2 separate regions of the Homo sapiens genome follow, and region 2 is linked to region 1. The links are contacts of gene promoters, found by promoter capture Hi-C in human tissues and cell types (Jung and others, 2019). All regions are on one chromosome and are shown on one strand. The core of a region is centred on a gene start or on the middle of the fragment in contact, and the rest is flanking DNA. Distances in the headings are between cores, read along the strand shown. Region 1 holds the start of PRSS33 (serine protease 33). Region 2 holds the start of KCTD5 (potassium channel tetramerization domain containing 5).

Evidence for each region. Contacts are between HindIII fragments. The study calls those that stand out against the background at their distance.
Region 2: the fragment with the promoter of KCTD5 here is called in contact with the fragment with the promoter of PRSS33 in region 1 in 1 of the 25 tissues and cell types used here (adrenal gland).

The regions. Positions count from the first base shown.
Region 1 is chr16:2,784,707-2,789,413 of GRCh38, forward strand. PRSS33 (serine protease 33) reads right to left here and starts at 2,854. Exons shown (of 7, transcript NM_152891.3): 1 at 2,827-2,854; 2 at 1,796-1,898; 3 at 1,383-1,415; 4 at 1,093-1,255; 5 at 669-940; 6 at 296-465; 7 at 1-96. The coding sequence starts at 1,841. The HindIII fragment of the contact is 27,852 bases long and covers 1-4,707 here.
Region 2 is chr16:2,680,061-2,684,767 of GRCh38, forward strand. KCTD5 (potassium channel tetramerization domain containing 5) reads left to right here and starts at 2,463. Exons shown (of 6, transcript NM_018992.4): 1 at 2,463-2,740. The coding sequence starts at 2,489. RefSeq lists a silencer at 2,546-2,725 and enhancers at 2,821-3,431, 2,976-3,025, 3,096-3,145. The HindIII fragment of the contact is 14,940 bases long and covers 1-4,707 here.

The DNA of each region.
Region 1 (4,707 bases), core at 1,604-4,103:
ACGGTTGGGCAGGGCACAACCCTTGCCCCAGCTCACCACGCCCACCAGGACCCAGCTCCCAGACTGCAGGCAGGTCAGAGGTCCCCCAGAATCACCCTGCAGGAGAAAGAGGAGCCTAAGTCCCAGCCCTCCCAGGACTTCAGTTCTCAGGGTTCCAGACCCCTGGCGTGGTGCCTCTAGGTTGGAGGCCAGGATCCTGAGCCTGAGTTGGGATGTCCTGGGTCCTGGAGTTCAGGGAGGGAGGGTGCTGGGCACAGGGAGGGGACTCCGGAGGCTGGGGAGGCTGGGTGCACACCTGGCAGGCGTCCTTGTGGCCCTGGGGGTAGCCGGCACACAGACTCCCAGGCAGCACAATGCGCTCAGCCTGGGGCACGTCCGCGCCCACGTGGTAGAGGCCGTCGCAGGTGCGCGAGTCCAGCAGCGGCACCCTTACTCCTTGTAGCGGTCGCCACTCTGGGAGGGGCACTGGGGGAAGAGGAGGGACCTCTGAGAGGAAGGCGTGGAGCGGGGGCCAGTGGGAGAAGCTGAGCTCTGAGTGAGAGGAGGTTTTGTTCCCTAGAAGCCGCGCTGGGTCCTGGATTGGGGCAGTGAGGGGCTGGGATTTCCAGTCAGATGGAGGAGGACGTGGGGGCTCCCGGATGCCTCGGAGCCCCGCCCTCCTGCCTTACCTCCTGGGCGGAGGCTGCCCCAGCCGGTGACCCGGCATGGTGTGCCGGGCGGCGGGCGGGCGCCGGGCACGGGCAGGCAGACGGGTTGGACGCGAGCGCTCAGGGGCACCGGGCGACGCAGCTGCAGCAGTGCCAGGTCGCCGCGGGCCCCGTCCTCGGAGTAGTCCGGGGGCAGCAGCACCCGTCGCACGGGCACCGAGAGCGTGCGGGGCGAGGTGGAGCCCAGACGCAGCGCCCCCAGGCGCACGCGGTACTCAGCTGGCAGTGCCCTCCTGCAGGACAGGAGCGGGGGACTACTTCCAGCACCGGGTCCTCGACCCCCTCCAGCCCGCCTCGACCCCAACGCCTCTGCCAGGCCACGCCCGGTCCTCTGCGGGCCTTGCCTTCCTTGCACACCCCGCCTGGGCCCTCGGTGAGCGCTGACCTGGGGAAGCAGTGCGCCGCTGTCAGCACCCACTGGGGGGCGATGAGCGACCCCCCGCACACGTGTGCCCCACGATGCTGGATGCTCGCCTGCCACGGCCACTCTCCGTCCCGGCCATCCCGGCCCCCAACGATCCGACTGGACATGCGGGGCTGCCCGCAGGCTAGAAAAGGACCAGGGGCGGTGAGGGTTGGCTGAGGACCTGGGGCCTGGGAGGCAGGTGTTGGTGGGGAGACACGGGGCCGAGGTCCAGGAGGGGCTGACTCGGGTGGACTCCGAGGCTTCCTCACCTGCAGACTTCCTTCCCTGAGTCCCAGCAGCTCCTGGAGGAGGAAGCAGGGAAGGGACCAGATTATAGATTTGGTGTCAAATAACGGAGTTGGAGGGGAGGCCAGAGATGAGGAAGGAGGGTGAAACAATGTTGCCCTGACATTGCGCCAGGCTTTCGTGCCGTCTGTTATCTTATTTAACCCTCCCCAGAGCACTGTGAAGGTGCAGGGGGCAAGGGCGTATGAGCATGACACCGACAAGCACATCGAGGTGTGGTGAGGTCAAGGTCAGTGGCAGAGAGGATTGAGCCCTTGGAATCAAGATTAGAAAGCCCAAGAGTGCTCCAGGGAGCCCGGCCCAGGGAGCAGTGAGATGGGAGAACTGGGAGCCAAGGTGTCTGCGGCCCTCACCCCCAGTCCCTGTCCCCACTCACCCAGCACCAGAAGGAGCAGGACCTGGAGACAGGAAACCCCTCTCATTCTGTCTTCAAGGCTGGGCTGGGTAAGGGTGGCACTGCCTAGGGCTTGGACTCTGGTCTGGAGCCAGCAGGGAGAAGAGAGGAGAGTCCTGGCCCAGGGGCACCAATCCTCACACCAGCCCGTCACCCCCTCCGTGGTCCTTCTGTCTGTCCTCAGCTCCTGGTGGGTTCTGGACTTATCCTGGTGGCCCAGGCTGTATACCCTTCGTTCTGCCCAGGGCCCAGGTATGCAGCACCCACCACCCAGATATTTGGGCATCCTTGGTCTCGACAGAAGCCCTGGAGCCTAACCCCCCTCGGTCATCCTCACTCCCTCCCTCATCCCCCTCCCCCATCCTCACCCCCTCCCTCATCCTCACCCCCTCCCTCATCCTCACTCCCTCCTCCATCCTCACCCCCCTCCTCCTCACTCCCCTCCCTTATCCTCACCCCTTCCCTCATCCTCATCCCTCTCTCATCCTCACCCCCTCCCTCATCCTCACCTCCTCCTCTATCCTCACCCCGTCCTCCATCGTCACCCCTGCTCCTCCTCACTCCCCTCCCTCATCCTCACCCCCTCCCTCATCCTCACCTCTCATCCTCACCCCTCTCTCATCCTCACCCCTCCCTCATCCTCACCCCTCCTCTATCCTCACCCCCTCCTCCATCCTCAGCCCCCTCCTCCTCACTCCCCTCCCTCATCCTCACCCCCTCCCTCATCCTCACCCCTGTCTCATCCTCACCCCCTCCCTCATCCTTCACCCCCTCCCTCATCCTCACTCCTCTCTCATCACCCCTCCTCCATCCTTCACCCCCCCATCGTCACCCCCTCCCTCATCCTCACCCCCTCCTCTATCCTCACCCCCTTCCTCCTCACTCCCCTCCCTCATCTTCACCACTTCCCTCATCCTCACCCCCTCCCCCATCCTTCACCCCTCCTCGTCCTCACCCTCATCCTCACCCACTGGCTGCCCCTGCAGCCCCCACAGCCCCTGGCTTGCTCTCACCCTCACAGCCTGGCGCCTTCTGCTGACTGGGGTTGAGGGAGGGCCTGGGGGCTTAAAGTGCCAGGAGAGCGCGAGGCTCAGCCAAGGAGTAATGAACAGGGCCGGGGCGGGGCTGTGGCTTTACCGGACCAGCCTCAAACAAAGATGCTTTGAGCAGAGCTTCAGAGGTGGCAGGAAAGGGTCAATGGGTTTCTCAAAGGAAGCCTGCCTTGCGCCAAGGTACTAGAAGTGGGGGCTGGCGGAGAGCAGTGGTGCGGGTAGGTGCTGGGAGGGGTGGCAGTCAGGTGGGGAAGCTCTGCAGGATCCGGGGCAACTCCTCTCCAAACCTGACCTGGGCTCCCTGCAGAGCACACGTTGCTGGAGCTTCTGCGCTCCATTGTTCTGTCCAGAAATCCCATCTCAGACGGAAGTCCTGGCCAGACAGCTCCACCCAGAGACCCCAGCATGGCCAGCCCCCTTCCAGATCCGGGGTCTGGAGCAGCTGGAGGTGGAAAGGGACTGGTTCAAAGTTGGTGGCACTCCTTACTTGACCAGAGGCAGGGGGAGACTTGACCTTGGGGACCAGTGCAGTCTTTGGTTTGGGGTGGCCGAGACAGAGCAAGATGCTGGGGTCAGGGGACAGGAACTCCCCTTCTCTCGAGGCCCGTGGAGGACCGGGGCCCGGATGGTCCAGGGCCCTGTAGTTCCCTCTTGGGCTCATACACAGTGTTCGCTGCCTAGAAGTCTCTCAAGTCCCTCTCTGCATAGTGAACTCCTCTTATCCCTCAGCCTTCTGCTCTGCCACCTCCTCCTGCCTCCTTTGCAGCCCTGCCATAGTTGTACTTTTTTCCTTTTTTTTTTTTTTGTTTTTCTTTCTTTTTTTTTTTAAAGAGACAGGGTCTTGGCCAAGCATGGTGGCTCATGCCTGTAATCCCTGCATTTTGGGAAGCCGAGATGGGTGGCTCATTTGAGGTCAGGGGTTTGAGACGAGCCTGGCCAACATGGTGAAACCTCGTCTCTACTAAAAATACAAAAATTAGCCAGGCCTGATGGTGGGCGCCTGCAATCTCAGCTACTCGGGAGGCTGAGGCACAGGAATTGCTTGAACCCGGGAGGTGGAAGTTGCAGTGAGCCGAGATTATGCCACTGCACTCCAGCCTGGGCGACGCAGTGAGATTCTGTCTCAAAAAAAAATAAAAAGGGAGAGAGAGACAGGGTCTTGCTCTGTCACCCAGGCTGGAGTGCAGTGGTACAATCACAACTCCCTGCGTCCTTGACCTCTGGGCTCAAGTGATCCTGCCACCTCAGCTTCCCAAGTAGTTGGGACCACAGGTGCATGCCACAGCACCTAGCAATTTTTTTTTCCAGAGATGGGGTCTTGCAATGATGCCCAACTTGTTCTCGAACTCCTGGGCTCAAGAGATCCTCTTGCTGTAGTCTCCCAAAGTGCTGGGGTTATAGGCATGTGCCACCGAGGCCAGCCCATAGTTGTCCTTTGACAGGGACTTGAGGAGGTTTGATTTACATCCTCTTGTCTCCCCTCCAGCATCAGGGTCTGGGTCTGTGTCCCTGTAGGAGTCCGCTTGGGCTGCCATAAACAAAAACCACAGCCGAAGGGGCTTTCTTTTTTTTTTTCTGAGACAGAGTCTTGCTCTGTCTCCAGGCTGGAGTGCGGTGGCGTGATCTCGGCTCACTGCAACCTCCACCTCCCGGGTTCAAGCTATTCTCCTGCCTCAGCCTCCTGAGTAGCAGGGATTTACAGGTGCGCGCCATCACACCCGGCTAATTTTTTTTTTTTTTTTGTATTTTTAGTGGAGACGCGGTTTCACCTTGTTGGCCAGGATGGTCTTGATCTCTTGACCTCATGGTCCGCCCGCCTCGGCCTCCCAAAGTGCTGGGATT
Region 2 (4,707 bases), core at 1,213-3,712, 110 kb before region 1:
TTGAAAAAAACCACGTAGCTGATTGGGTTTTACAAGAGTGCATTTGTCTCCCCCTTCCACCCCCCCACCTTCAGGTCTTAGTGGTTCACAAGAGCCCAGCAGCCAGGCTGGCTTTTTCATTGTAGGGCGTGGTTGTCCCAGCTGGTGTAGATTTCAGGCCGCCTCCCCCCATCTCCCTGCCCACAGTGTTGCAGATTGCCTGGCTGGCAGCAAGTCCAGACCACCCAAATTTGGTTGGATTCTTCATTTCTCCACTGTAGTTGGGGTCCATTGATTGTGCAGGGGAACGTGCAGGAGGTTTTTCTAGGCACTGCGTTCAGTGCTGCTTCACTCTACCAGAGATTATGGCCAAATTGCACGGAATTTGGTTTCTTGCCCTCTGAAGCCTGAGGGCCCCCCCTTGCCTGGCTGGTTGACAGACCCGGGGTGCTCACTGCTGAGACTTCAGAGATCGCAGCTGCTGTGAGAATACGGTGAAGGTACTATGTTCTGGAAGATGTTGTCATACACTTTTCCCCAGTTATTTTCAAACTTGACATGAGCCTATGTTGACTCACTGGGTGGGGTCCCTTCTTACGCAGCACACGTGGCAAGTGCCTGAATCGGGGCTGGAGGCACTTCAGAGCCTCTGAGGGGCCACCACTTCTGGCCCAAAATTGCAGGGTTGTAGATGAGGCTGCCTGTGGAGAACTGGTGTGAGGAGGAAGCTGTTTCCAACAAAGAGCACTTTCATCTGTTGAGATGGCTGTGGTGAGCAACTGAACGAGCCTACGTGTGTACCTGAATTTTCCCCATAACTCATTTCTTCCATATGAAGAAACACCAAACTATGTACAGAGAACTTTTTACAAAAGGCAGACCTTTTTTAAGCTGTGTAACCCACATAGCCTAACCGTCTGGCAGAATGACTACGAATAGGGGTCATTGTGCTGGTAAAAGCCTCTATTACGACTGTTAAGTTGGATGTTGGCAAAATTAAATTGTTACAGTATTTAGAGCTGCTGTAGCTGTTCCTTCACAACATGAAATAGGATAAATGACTAGTACGTCTTTCAGGTGGGTGGCAGTCAGAACATGCGTAATATTCTCTACCTGGTCTGTAGCTGTAACTGTGATGTACAGACAAAGCAAAAATTAAAAGAACTCATGAAAACAAATAATACAATGGTATTAGGATATACACTTTTGTGTTTTTAATCTTATAGAAGGTTATTTGCTGGCTATTGTTGGCCTCTAGTTCAGCCTGTTATTTAAATTCTTTTTTTTTCTTGAGACGGAGTCTCACTCTGTCGCCCAGGCTAGAGTGCAGTGGCCTGATCTCGGCTAACTGCAACCTCCGCCTCCTGGGTTTAAGCAATTCTCTGCCTCAGCCTCCGAGTAGCTGGGATTACGAGCGCCCACAACCACATCTGGCTAATTTTTTGTATTTTTGGTAGAGACGGAGATTCACCATCTTGGCCAGGCTGATGTTGAACTCCTGACCTCGTGATCCACCCACCTTGGCCTCCCAAAGTGTTGGGATTACAGACATGAGCCACCGCGCCCGGCCTAAATTCTAATATATGAATTATTTGTATTGAATTCATGTTCGGGGCCACGTTGTTATATGTATTGATATACAGCCTTGAATGTGAATAATTACTATATATTTTACAACTTTTTTCTGGCTTTATTACAAAAACTTTCTTTTTTTTTTTTTGAGACAGACTCTCGCCCTATCACCAGGCTGGAGTGCAGTGGCGAGATCTCAGCTCACTGCAACCTCTGCCTCCCGGGTTCACGCCATTCTCCTGCCGCAGCCTCCCGAGTAGCTTGGATTACCGGCGCCCACCACCGCGCCAGGCTAATTTTTGTATTTTCAGTGGAGACCGGGCCTCACCATGTTGGCCAGCGTGGTCTCGATCTCCTGACCGCCTGATCCTCCCGCCTCGGCCTCCCAAAGTGCTGGGATTACAGGCGTGAGCCACCAGGCCCCGCCCTTATTATATAAATTTTCTATTGGGTCAATGATTTAATCATATAATTTAATGAATCTGTTCTTTTTTTCCCCCCAAATATTTGTGCTTTAGGTGTAGTTACCAGATGATGAATTTTCCTCCTATGCTCCGTAGTCTTGTAATAAAAAGCATGTACAGTGTAGACGTTTGCTGGCATGGCTCTTCCTTTGACCAGTTCATGAACTGGAGTCAGGGTGGGGGTGAAGGCTAGGGTCGAGGTCTGGGTCAGGCGCTCGTGCACCGCTCGTGGGAGGTCGAGGCTGATGTCCGCTGCTCCCCATCAGCGTTAGTGCCCAGATCACCCCGTGCTCCGCTCCCGCCGGAAGCGGGCCCAGCCTCCTGCTTTTCGGGACCGGAACTTCCGCCTACCGCGTGACGCCGGGGCGGGCGCTCTACCAGGGCGGACCTGTGGGCGGGACAGAACTCAGAGGACGCTATTAAAAGCCGGACGCTTCCGGTGGAAGGGAGCTGTTGCGGGGCTTGCTGGGATCATGGCGGAGAATCACTGCGAGCTCCTGTCGCCGGCCCGGGGCGGCATCGGGGCGGGGCTGGGGGGCGGCCTGTGCCGCCGCTGCAGCGCTGGGCTCGGCGCCCTGGCCCAGCGCCCTGGCAGCGTGTCCAAGTGGGTCCGACTCAACGTCGGCGGCACCTACTTCCTCACCACTCGGCAGACCCTGTGCCGGGACCCGAAATCCTTCCTGTACCGCTTATGCCAGGCCGATCCCGACCTGGACTCAGACAAGGTGAGGGCCTCACGGGCCAGCCCGGAGGGTCCTGGCCTTCCCGGCCTGCGGCTCCTGCACACGCCCTGCTTCGTGCGGAGGAGACTTCAGCGGGAGCGGGCGACTCTCCTCGGGCTTCGAGCCCCGCGCTCCCTTGTCGCCAGCTCCTCCCCAGCTTGCCCCGATCCCCTACCCTGGGAGGGGAGGGTGAGGATGGCGCCCTGGCGTCCACTGCCTTTGAGGATCCTGAGTCGATTCACCTTGGGGGTGTCTCTTCCTCGCCCTCTTTGCTCTTTGGTGGAGGAGGCTTCCTAGACCCCGGACTTTGCTGTGATTCTACTTTCTTTTTCTCACTAGGTTCTTTTGCCCAGGGTGTGTGAACGCCTTCTCTTCTCTGTCCCAGGGTACTTGCTGGCTCTGGAAACAGAACCCTTGGCGTTGTTTCACATTCTGGACGTTTGAATTAACGCTGACGTGGGGGTTGATATGGGCGGCCCTTTTTTTCCCTGGTGACTTGCATTTAGAGAGTTGGCGCTCCATCCTTTCCATCCACAGCACGCAGCACCCACTCAGCACCTCTTAGAAGATGCGTCCGTAGTATATAGTATGATTTTTCGAAGGGGATTTTGCTCATATTAAGGGTTGCTTTAGGGATGTCCAGGAAGGGTCAGGTAAGGAATCTTTCAATCTGCTTTCTAATTGGCTTAGTTTTCCCACTGTCTTCGCAAAAGGACAGGAATTTCCAGGTTAGTTTGCAGCTTGTCTTTCATCAAGCGAAATGCTCATGCTGTTGGGTAGATGGTAATAGAAACCTTTTGCTACCTTTATTTATCAAGAGTTGTGGAGCCGAGGAACCGTGTCTTGGGAGTTGTGCAGGATTGAAACTCACAAAAAAGCCTGTTTGAAGAAGTTGTTACCTATATTTATTCAAGGCAGTTCACAAGCCTTATACTAACTTTGCGGGGTCTTTCAGTTGAGCTTACATGACTGCGCTTGGCTTTGTGCCTTGGCAGCCAACATTTGCCATGCAGGAGGCTTCCCAGAAAGGTTCGGATCCCTCTTCAAGTTTGAGAAGCCTGACTGAGACCATTCTCAGCATGGCATGACCGTGATCAGGAAGTGAGAATCTGGAGTTACTGCTAAGGCAGCCTTGTGGGTGGAAATGAGGGTTTGAGATGCCAACCCTCCTGTGCCTCCCCACAACTTCCAACTGTTTCCATTGCTCATTTGACCAAGCCCTCTACTCAGAGAATTGACCTCCCAGGAAATGACAGTCATCCCCAGGATAGAAATAGGCGTTTGTTAGCTGTGATTTTCCTTTTATAAGTGTGGGTGTATGTTTTACTGTTTGGTTTTTCTTTTTAAATAACAGGGCTTAGTGGTCACTCCCTTGCCTTTCTACTCAAGCATTCCTGTTTTGTATATGAAATTAGAGTTTAAATTGCTCTTGTCCATTGGGTTCTTTGAGGCAATGGTTGTCTATTCAGCACTGGAGCACTTGATTCCCAGTTGATGAACTTTAGCACAGTTAAGGTGGTTGATCCCTTTGCTTTACTGTTCCTTAAGACTTTGTTAAAAATTATGGGCCAGGCGCGGTGGCTCATGCCTGTAATCCCAACACTTTGGGAGGCCCAGGCAGGTGGATCTCGTTCAAAACCAACCGGGCCAATATGGTGATGCCCGGTCTCTACTAAAAATACAAAAAGGTGGGCGCGGTGGCTCACGTCTGTAATCCCAGCACTTTGGGAGGCCGAGGCAGGCGGATCACGAGGTCAGGAGATCGAGACCATCCTGGCTAACATGATGAAACTCTGTCTCTACTAAAAATACAAAAAATGAGCCAGGCGCGGTGGCGAGCACCTGTAGTCCCAGCTACTAGGCAGTCTGAGGCAGGAGAATGGCGTGAGCCTGGGAGGAGGAGCTTGCAGTGAGCCTAGTTAGCGCCACTGCAGTCCAGCCTGGGTGAAAGAGCAAGACTCCATCACAAA